2 separate regions of the Homo sapiens genome follow, and region 2 is linked to region 1. The links are contacts of gene promoters, found by promoter capture Hi-C in blood cells and fetal thymus (Javierre and others, 2016). All regions are on one chromosome and are shown on one strand. Each heading gives the region's core, a stretch centred on a gene start or on the middle of the fragment in contact. The rest is flanking DNA. Distances are from core to core; before and after follow the strand shown.

Region 1 (5,340 bases), core at 1,731-4,230:
TGTATGTCAATACACTGTATGTGCACTCCAGCCAGGGCGACAGAATGAGACTCCATCTCAGGGAGAAAAAAAAAAAAGAAAAAGTCATCACAATAATTCACTGATGGACACTCAAGAACTGGTATTTCCCATGAATTTGTATGGTATAGTACAAGTAACAGGGATAATAGCAGTTGGTTAAAAGAATTAACTGAGATGGATATAAATGTTGGTATATGAGCTACAAGACTGCATTAAAGTTTTTCTGTAATGTATGTCAATACACTGCTCATATGTTGTGAGCATGAAATCGGTTAATCCACAGAAGCACTTATATGGCTCAGTGCTTAGAAGTATCTATTACTAATGAGTACACAAATCATAAAATTATTTTTCATTCCATTGTCATGCTTTGCCAGTTGAGAAAATGGCCAGGAAGTCTGTTGGCTTGCAGGAATAAACTAAAATAGAAATTAAACAATTGTATTAAAAAGTCTGGCCGGGGTGGCTCACGCCTGTAATTCCAGCACTTTGGGAGGCCAAGGCGGGCAGATCACTTGAGGTCAGGAGTTTGAGACCAGCCTGGCCAACATGGTGAAATCCCGTCTCTACTAAAAATACAAAAATCAGCCAGCCATGGTGGCGTGTGCCTGTAATCCCAGCTACTCGGAAGGCTGAGGTAGGAGAATCACCTGAACCCAGGAGGCAAAGGTTGCAGTGAGCCGAGATCGTGCCACTGCACTCCAGCCTGGGCGACAGAGTGAGACTCCATCTCAGGGAGAAAAAAAAAAAGAAAAAGTCATCACAATAATTCACTGTTGGACACTCAAAAACTGGTATTTCCCATGAATTTGTATGGTATAGTACAAGTAACAGGGATAATAGCAGTTGGTTAAAAGAATTAACTCAGACTGATATGAATGTTGGTACATGAGCTACAAGACTGCATTAAAGTTTTTCTTTTGTTCTACTCTAAAAATTCAGCAACTAGGCCCAGTGCCTGATACAGAGTGAGTCCTCAAGATATCGTTGACTGAAGCTAACAAAGTGATTTATTGATTTATTTATTTATTGAGACAGAGTTTCACTCTTGTCACCCAGGCTAGAGTGCAGTGGTGCAACCTCAGCTCACTGCAACCTCTGCCTCCCGGTTTCAAGCAATTCTCCTGCCTTAGCCTCCAGAGTAGCTGGGACTTCGCCACTACGCCTGGCTAATTTTTTGTATTTTTAGTAGAGATGGGGGTTTCACCATGTTGGCCAGGCTGGTCTCGAACTCCTGACACCCGCCTCAGCCTCCCAAAGCGCTGAGATTACAGGCGTGAGCCACCGCCCCCAGCCTAACAAAGTGATTTTTTTTTAAAGACGAGGGGCAGGCAGGGCGCAGTAGCTTAACGCCTCTAATCCTAGCACTTTGAGAGGCCGAGGTGGGCAGATCACAAGGTCAGGAGTTCAAGACCAGCCTGGCCAATATCGTGAAACCCCCTCCCTACTAAAAGGATGAAAAAAATTAGCTGGGCGTGGTGGCAGCCACCTGTAGTCCCAGCTACTCGGGAGGCTGAGGCAGGAGAATCGCCTGAACCCGGGAGGCAGAGGTTGCAGTGAGCCGAGTTGGCGCCACTGCACTCTGCTCTGGGAGACAGAGCAAGACTCCGTCTCAAAAAAAAAAATAAATAAATAACCAAAAAAAAAAAAAAGGAGGGGCGATGTTTTATTAAACATTTCGCTATTTGAAGAATTAATACACTCATGCAAAGAAAAGATGAAGTAAACATGCCCTACAGTGTTATCATTTGAGATCTCTTAAAAGCGGCTATGCAGCCGGGCGTGGTGGCTCACGTTGTAATCCCAGCACTTTGGGAGGCTGAGGCGGGCGGATCACTCGAGGCCAGGAGTTCGAGACTAGCCTGGCCAACAGGGTGAAACGCCCTCTGTACTAAAAATACAAAAATTACCCGGGCTTGGTGTCACATGCCTGTACAAATCCCAGCTACTGGGGAGGCTGAGGCAGGAGAATTGCCTGAACCCGGGAAACGGAGGTTGCAGTGAGCCAAGATCACGCCATTGCACCCCAGCCTGGGAGAAGCGAGACTCCGTCTCAAAAAAAAAAAAAAAAAAAAAAAAAAAAGCGGCTATGCAACACTCTACTCTGTCCCATGAATATCTGCCACATATTTGAATTCCCAGTCTTATACGCCCCAGGCCTTTGCAATGTTTAGGGTCCACACGAGAAGCCATTAAAATGCAAATACGTCATCTGTGACCGGGAACCAAGCTGGCATCTAGCAGATACTGACACATTTATCAGTCTGATGTGTGGACAACTAGGTGCCTCCCAGAGGCCTTCAGGTAAGGTGGAGGAAGGGCCAATTCTGAGCTGACACAGTGGGATCCATCTTGGCCAGGACAGTGGGATCCATCTTGGCCAGGACAAAGGCAGTCCAGAGAGGCCCCGCGGCGCGGTGCGGCGCGATCACGCCCGAGTCTCCTTCTCGTTCCCCTCGGCCCTTCCTAAAACCTGCTGGCTCAGGTCTGAACAATCGCAGCTGGACAGGTGGTGCACAACGATGTTAATTTTCATCCTGTCTTTTTCATCAGTGCATCCTTCAGTTCCCTATTACTTGTGGGCTGGGGAGTTGGCCAAATTGAGTGAAAACCTGAAATGTCTTTTTGTTCTTTTGGTTCAGCCAGTTTAAGTTCCATGCAATCTTTAAGCTAGGAGGCTAATAATAATACAATTCTCTGCTTGCCCTTTTCAAAGCCACTTCAGCTTATAAACTCCATATTAGACCATCCAGGCCCAGAAGACGCCACCGGCCTACAGGCAGAGTCAGCGGAACCAGCCTGGGCTGGATCTCCCCCTGCGAGGCCCCCAGGCAACGCCCGCGCCGGGCCGGGGAGATCACGTCCCGTGCGTCGGGAGGCGGGGGCCTCGGGCTGTGACGTCACGTGGCCGCGCCCCTGCCGCCCAGATATCTCCGGCGCCGCCCGCCATTTTGACTCCAGTGTCTCGTTTGCAGTCGGCGCTTTAGGGGAACTGTCTTCCTCCGCAGGCGCGAGGCTGGGTACAGGGTCTATTGTCTGTGGTTGACTCCGTACTTTGGTCTGAGGCCTTCGGGAGCTTTCCCGAGGCAGTTAGCAGAAGCCGCAGCGGCCGCCCCCGCCCGTCTCCTCTGTCCCTGGGCCCGGGAGGGACCAACTTGGCGTCACGCCCCTCAGCGGTCGCCACTCTCTTCTCTGTTGTTGGGTCCGCATCGTATTCCCGGAATCAGACGGTGCCCCATAGATGGCCAGCTTTCCCCCGAGGGTCAACGAGAAAGAGATCGGTGAGGATTGGGACCGTGGGTGGGCGCATGAGGGCCGAGGAGAGGCAGGGACTCCCCGGAGGAGGTTTGGGAGGAAGCGACTCCAAGTCTGAGGGAAGAGCTCCAGTGCGCCAGGGCCAGCCCACTAGCGAGGAGGAGGAAGCCGCCTCGGTGGGAGTTGGCTGAGGGGTAAACGGCACCGACGTGGATGCAGCACCTACTGTGCTCCCTCGCGGTTGCTGTGTGGCTGGGGCGGGCAAGGACCCCGGTTTCTTCGTCGGAGGTCCGCGCAGGGCTCTTGTCCTGGGAGTTCTTGGCTCAGGGCATGACTGTCGAGTGGACAGGGAAGGGCCACTCAGGGACTTTAGGTTTACAATGGGGAAAAGTAAACTTGTGGGTTGTAAGCGGTAATGAAAGGAGGGGGTCCTCGTGTGTACCAACCACTCTTAGATAGAAATGAGATGGAAGAGGTCCCAACAGCCTGGCAAAAGCAATACAGTATTTTTAAAATGGTGTGGCCTTAAGAAACGCAGCGGTTCGGGGGAGGAGACTTTTAGAATTATCTTTCAAACACTTAAGGGAGGAGCTGGGTGGTTGGGTGGAGTGACAGAAGGAAAGCTTTTGTGCGGAAGAGGAAACTCTGGAAAAGGCTTTTCTGGCTTAGTGTCTAGCCCTGGTCGGCTTAGTAAAGGGCAATTAGTGTTGAAGGTTGTGCGTCCACACCTACTTAGTGGCTCAGTGGAAAGCACGTCGCATTATTTAAATCCTCTTTTAAAGTAAAATAACTGGAACAACGTTTGACGGTGTTGGGGGGTGCTGTACATTGGCTGATAACACTTAGCAAACACTGATCTTACTGTGTGAAGTAATAATTAGCTGCGGCCGCTGAGCAGAGAGCATTTACATTTTCCTACTCTTGAAGTGAATGTGTGCCTTTACTAAGTACAAGGAGGAGTTATTTCTAGAGAAGGGAAGAGGCTGAAGTAGCCAAAACGCGCACTATTTTGTATGTGGGTGAATTTTTATATCTAGAAACAGCTGTTTTAGAATTCTGGACTTTTGTTGTCTTAGGGATGATTGATTAGGAAGGGACTTTAACCCTGGTTTTAATAACCATTTTTAAAGATACAAACACAGAAAAAAAAGGGAAAAAATTGTAGCAGAGTTCACACAGAAAAAAGAAAAAAAAAGATGCAAAGAACACAGAATTTGTGTCCAGTTATTATTTTAACTGTATTTTAAGACTAGAAAGTATGTCGCGAAGTGGGACAAAGAACTCAAAAGTTCTTATCAGTCCAGTGGGTTTTTCTTTTACTTTAGTACACCATAATGTTATAGACGAGTGATCTGCCTTTTTTTTAAATCTGTATTTTACTTCATCCTGATAAACCATTTTGAAAACTTTGCGGTCCTGTTTTCTCTCTCTCTTTTTTTTTTTTGAGATGGAGTTTTTGCTCTTGTTGCCCAGGCTGGAGTGCAATGGCACGATCTCGGCTCACTGCAACCTCCGGCTCCCGGTTTCAAGCGATTCTCCTCCCTCAGCCTCCTGAGTAGGTGGGATTACAGGCATGCACACGCCCGGCTAATTTTTGTGTTTTTAGTAGAGATGGGGTTTCTCCATGTTGGTCAGGCTGGTCTCGAACTCCCGACCTCAGGTGATCGCCCACCTCTGCCTCCCAAAGTGCTAGGATTACGGGCGTGAGCCACCCCGCCCAGATTTCCGGTTTTGTTTTCTAAGAGATGGATAGAGATGGATAGCATACCTACATAAAGTAGAACCATCCACTAAGTGTTCCCCCACTAGCCCCCTGATTTCTCTTTTCTTTTCTTTCTTTTTTTTTTTCATATTTAGGTCTCAGTGTTATTTCCTGGATACGTTATAAAAACTTACTAGCTAAGTGCCAGATATCTAGAAGAACTTTTGCTTTTTCTGAGCTTTTTTTAACCCCAGTTTTTTTCTTTGTTTCTTTTTTTGAATTATCATTTGGATACAAGGTTGAACATTTCTCTGCGTAGCTTTTTAAATCTATGAATAAGGATTTACTTTTTTTCTTTTCTT
Region 2 (5,376 bases), core at 2,877-5,376, about 46 Mb after region 1:
GTGCACCACCACACCCAGCTAATTTTTTGTATTTTTAGTAGAGATGGGGTTTCACCATGTTGGCCAGGCTGGTCTCGAACTCCTGACCTCGTGATCTGCCCACCTTGGCCTACCAAAGGGCTGGGATTATAGGGATGAGCCACTGCGCTCGGCCAGGAAAATATTTGAAGAGGAAAAACAGCTATAGAAACTCAGGTCTCCACACAGAAGGATTCTACTCTGCACTTGTTCACTGTCTCTGAATGACTGTTACCTACATGAAAGTTCCTGATTTTTCCCCCTTGGGGGAGTTACTTTGAATTGCTGGCAAAGACAGACTGGATATAGGTCAAATCCTATTATCAGGAACTAATTAAAGTACAAATTATTTGGGTGTGGGAGAATTCTACTGTGAGTTATGAGGCTAGGGCTCTTTGTTGTTGAGGCTTTTCTCTTAGTGTGACAACTGTTAAGGGTCAAAATCTCTAGGTGCATAACTTAATAGCAGCATTACTTTATATTGGTTTCCTTTCCCCAGCACAGAGCAGCCTTCCAATTGCACAGAAAATGTATCCTCAGTCTGCGTACTGAAGCACTCTTTCATGAAATCAAAAATTGTAAAAAAGTTCCAGAACACCCAACTCCCCTTCCCTCTCACCACAGGAGCTCTTTTCACAACAAGATAATGAAAAGTAAAAACACTGAGAAATGGGATTCTGCATACACATACCTTACATATTTTACATGCTTAAAGTTTCTCTTAAAAGGCATTTGAATTGAAGCAACAAAATATGTTTATCTTAAGGACAATTCATGGTTTATAAACTACCAGAAAAGAAGTTCGCTGCTGAAATACAAAACAGTGAGTTCAAACATAGGCTTTCAAAAAGCCACGAAATTTCTAACAAATACAAATGAGTGTGTACATATATGACTATGTGCACATATGTACTGTTTTGCTGGGGACAGGGTACACAGCTTCCTCAAAGGGACCCTGATTTGGAAACAGAAAGGTTAAACCAGTATAATCAACTAAGGTCATTTTAAATTACTGTTTAAGTAAATTTAATTACACAGCAGATACTAGGTTATTTAACTCAAGCAGTGAAAACAACAGACTATGTGACCACACTTCCTACCTCTGTGTCCCAGGAATCCTGAAAGACAGGGTTTCTGCTACTTCTTTTGGTCTGGGGGGGAAGATGGTTGTCTTCTTCGTTGCCATTCCTTCTCCTTTTCCTGAAATTAAATCACAAGGAGAAAAAAAAAAAAACCCAAACAACCGATGTTTTGGACACTTGAATTGCAAACCATAACAACATATAAATTTGCCCTCTGGCCTGAGAAAACATAATTCAGCATATGATATCCCAATAGGTTATCAGTTGGAAGTACAGCATCACTGGACACTAAGAGCAAAAATACAAGACAGCAGCAGCGAGGTCAAGCTTAAGTTAGTAAAACTCATTTCTAAAAAGAAGCTTAACAATTTTAAATGTCTGTTGGGACTGAAACAAGAACAGGAAGAGGTTAATGACTAAGCTTTCAACCTCTAACCTAATTAAGGTTTTCTTCTTTTTACACTCCCTGAAATTAGGATTCCGAGTTACCTAATTGTACTCCCTTCCATATGACAACATTTGATATAAGAGTGGCTGCCTTTGCCTATTTGCCCTGAAAACCCTTATAAAAGTACCTCTTGGTCACATTCACCTGCTTATTCTGGCAACACTAGCCGGTATTATGATATAACAATTACTTCACTAGATTGTTACTATGAGATGATAGCATAAGCTGCTTAAAATTTCCAGGTTTAAAGAAAAATCACACATCTTTCTTAGGCAAGTGTTCTCGGACATGCAAGAAAGACCAAATTTGCATGTACTCTATTTAAGAATTATGTGCTGTCAAAACGATTTCTGAACCTGTTAGAAAACAGAAATAAATTAAAGGAGGTATAATTTTCAGTCAAATTGCCCGGAACTGTACTGTCCAATACGGTAGCCACTAGCCACATATGGTTATTTACATTTAAATTAACTAAAATTAACCATCCAGTTCCTAGGTCACAGCTGCCCTGTTTCTAGTGCTCAGTGGCCACGTGTAGCTAGTGGCTACTGCACTGACCAGCACAGATAAAGGACATTTCCGTCACTGCAGAACGTTCTCCGGAGCAGCACAGGCTAGAGGTCTGTATGTACATGGCAGCAGCACCTATTACAAAACCCTTGAAGTTTCAGCTTTCTATAGTTAAGAGACAAAAGGCTAGTGTGGACACACAGCTCTTGGAAAGCATGTACATTTGGAGGATATAGTGTCTTCTAAATAATTATACACTTTCTATGAGAGTAGGGTGGCTTACAGTGGCAGGCCTTTAATCCTAAAGGTTTTGAGTTGAGGTTTGAATATTAGAGAAAATAAATGATCACCCTAAGCTCACTTCTCTGTACTCTGCAACATTCTGAATAGGTCTAACTTTAATAATGAGTATGGATCCCAGCTTAAGTTTGGAATAATAAAGAGTGTGTGGTTCTGATAAAGCTTCAACCATCCTGCACTGGGCTATGTAATTTACTTCATTCTAAGACATTTCTGCTCCCCACCTTTCTCTTAGGAGATCAGATCTTAGCTGCACATTACTTTGAAGTAGTTGGAGGTTAAAAAAAAATAGATGAATATCAGGTTTTAATAATCATTAAATGGGTGTGCTTTTATCATAAATTTGAACCAAGAAACTGCTAATTTCATCCTAATATGATCAGGGAATTTGAGTGGGAGTGTTCTGCAGAGGCAAAGCAATGTCTGCTGGGAGGCCAGTCGACACCCAAAGAGAAAGTCATTGAGTAAGTAGCAGCTGCTGGTCCTCACACACCCATTTTATCAGCGTGCCAACAGCTGACTGGGCTTTGGGCTGCTGAGTCACTCTAACCAAACTTAGGAGCCTGATCAAAATTTGCTATCTCCTCATTTATAATGGGGGATAGATCTTTCCAGGGACAAGACTATGAATGTCAAGGAGGTTGCATGGCAGAGGGACTGTAAGAACAAAAAAAGATGAGATGATTTTGTGGATTTCAACTAATCTCTGGGAGAGTCACATGAAATATCCCTGCCTCATAAATTACTTGATCTCTCAAGGCACCAGAATAATCTCTTTGGCCTGTTGGTAGCCTTCTCCTCTGGATGGTACCAGATTAAGAAAGAGTCCTACCTGCTCTTCATTTGCCTTTTTCTAGGCTCTTAGCAGATCTCATCCTTGAAACATTCTTCTTTCAACAATGGTGTTAACAACTGGCAAGATTACAGCTTCATGCTCATCCCTATCAGTTCAATCAATCAGATTACAATTTTTGGCATTAATGCCACAGACCAGGTTATGATTTTAGCAGGCACCCCTATAACTGATTATATTCTTCCCTAACCATCTAGGTGCAGATTACCAGTTAGCATCTGTTACTTCTACAGATGGTTGATTCCATCACGTTGCATTATTTCATTTCTCTCCAACCTTCCTGTCATCTCCTAGAGACTCGGCATAGAAATAATCTTAAGAGTATGGGCTGGGCACGGTGACTCACACCTGTAATCCCAGCACTTTGGGAGGCTGAGGCAGGCAGATCACTTGAGGTCAGGAGTTCGAAACCAGCCTGGCCCACATGGTGAAACCCTGTCTCTACTAAAAATACAAAAGAGTTAGCAGGGCGTGGTGGCGTGTGCCTGTAATCCCAGCTACTTGGGAGGCTGAGGCAGGGGAACTGCTTGAACCCAGGAGGTAGAGGTTGCAGTGTGCCGAGATCGCACCACTGCACTCCAGCCTGGCCGACACAGTGAGACTCCATCTCAAAAAAAAAAAAAAAAAAAAAAAAAAAGAGTATGGAAACTAGTGGTTTTCAAACTTTATTTTAAAAAGTAACAGAACTCTTTCTTTCTTACTGTAAAAAAATTCTCTCTATATAAGAGATAAAGGATCTGTTAAAGTAGGGACTCCCAGTCTGGTGAGGTGGCTCACATCTGTAATCCCAGCACTTTGGGATGCCGAGGCGGGTGGATCCCTTGAGCCCAGGAGTTCAAGACCAGCCTGGGCAATATAGTGAAACCCCACCTCTACCAAAAATACACAGATTAGCTGGGTGTGGTAGCTCACACCTGTGCTCCAGCTACTCAGGAGGCTGACGTGGGAGGATCACCTGAGCCTGGGAGGTTGAGGCTGCAGTGAGGCATGATGGGGCCACTGCACTCCAGCCTGGTCGACAGAGTGAGACTCTGTCAATCAATCAGTCAATCAATCAACCAATCAATCAATCAATAAGCAGGGACTCCCTCACTACACACTCACCTCTCTGCGGCTATCCAATCTACTGTGGGAGAGCCTGAAAACCCTTTTTTTTTTTTAGATGGAAGTTTCGCTCTTGTTGCTCAGGCTTGAGTGCAGTGATCTCCGCTCACTGCAACCTCCGCCTTCCAGGTTCAAGCGATTCTCCTGCCTTAGCCTCCCAAGTAGCTGGGATGAAGGTGCCCACCACCAGGCCCAACTAATTTTTTTGTATTTTTAGTAGAGACAGAGTTTCACCATGTTGGCCAGAGTGATCTCCAACTCCTGACCTCAGGTGATCCGCCCGCCTTGACTTCCCAAAGTGCTGGGATTACAGGCGTGAGCCACCGCACCCAGCCGAAAAACCACCGTCTTAGACCATCCTAGAGCTGGCAGAGCTGGCCCATCATACTCCATTAAACACTGGCAGGAAAAGCCTGTCCAAATCAAATAACTTCTTTAAAACATGTTGAGATTATTTGTGTACAAGATAAAAGGAATCTACTGCCAGTATAAATGCATTCAGATTAGTTATGTACAGTAGAATTTTTATTTGTAGGAAATATTTAGATTTTTTTTCAGATATGTGAGACACCCCAAGAGAATATCGTAAGTATAAACTGGGTTTGGGAAAGAATAATATGGCAGTCGGGTCAGATTCACTGTATCTAAAGATCTTGCTCCTAATTCCGATGGCATGTCTGTAATTGGGCCCCCAATTTCAAATTTAGTCCACTCTTCTTTTCTATACAAGGAGAGGCTTTATGCTCCACCTGCTACATGACCCAAATCAATAATCCAATGCAGCAGCTTGGGGAACCCTAGGTTTTCACTATGGGACCAAATAAACTCAGAATACTTTTGAGAACTTCAATCACATGAAATAATTATTTCAGAGAAGGATCCTTGTGGAAAGACCGTAACAGGAAGAGCATTCTGAGGTAACCTTTCCCAACTTTCTCCTCCACACATTCTTGCAGAGGAAATTAAGAGAGAGAAAAAAATTAAGAAATCCCAACTTAGTCCGGACTCTAGTAGTACATGTCAAGCACAGAACCCCTAATTTAAGACCCGCGTCCCGAGGC

What was found. The method cuts DNA at HindIII sites, captures the fragments that hold promoters and counts their contacts. A CHiCAGO score of 5 or more calls a contact.
Region 2: a contact is called between a fragment that was not itself captured here and the fragment with the promoter of WSB1 in region 1, in 1 of 17 cell types (fetal thymus). The highest score is 5.0, in fetal thymus.

Annotation. Positions count from the first base shown.
Region 1 is chr17:27,291,134-27,296,473 of GRCh38, forward strand. WSB1 (WD repeat and SOCS box containing 1) reads left to right here and starts at 2,981. Exons shown (of 9, transcript NM_015626.10): 1 at 2,981-3,302. The coding sequence starts at 3,263. MIR4522 (microRNA 4522) reads right to left here and starts at 2,863; the gene lies at 2,777-2,863. RefSeq lists enhancers at 2,710-2,759, 3,130-3,189, 3,200-3,259 and a silencer at 2,800-3,009. The HindIII fragment of the contact is 5,795 bases long and covers 1-3,897 here.
Region 2 is chr17:73,226,047-73,231,422 of GRCh38, forward strand. It overlaps VCF1 (VCP nuclear cofactor family member 1), which reads right to left. Exons shown (of 4, transcript NM_001098832.2): 2 at 1,119-1,218. Among named protein-coding and RNA genes, the nearest start is that of VCF1, 3.7 kb to the right of the region's middle. RefSeq lists enhancers at 2,934-2,983, 5,065-5,376. The HindIII fragment of the contact is 3,216 bases long and covers 2,519-5,376 here.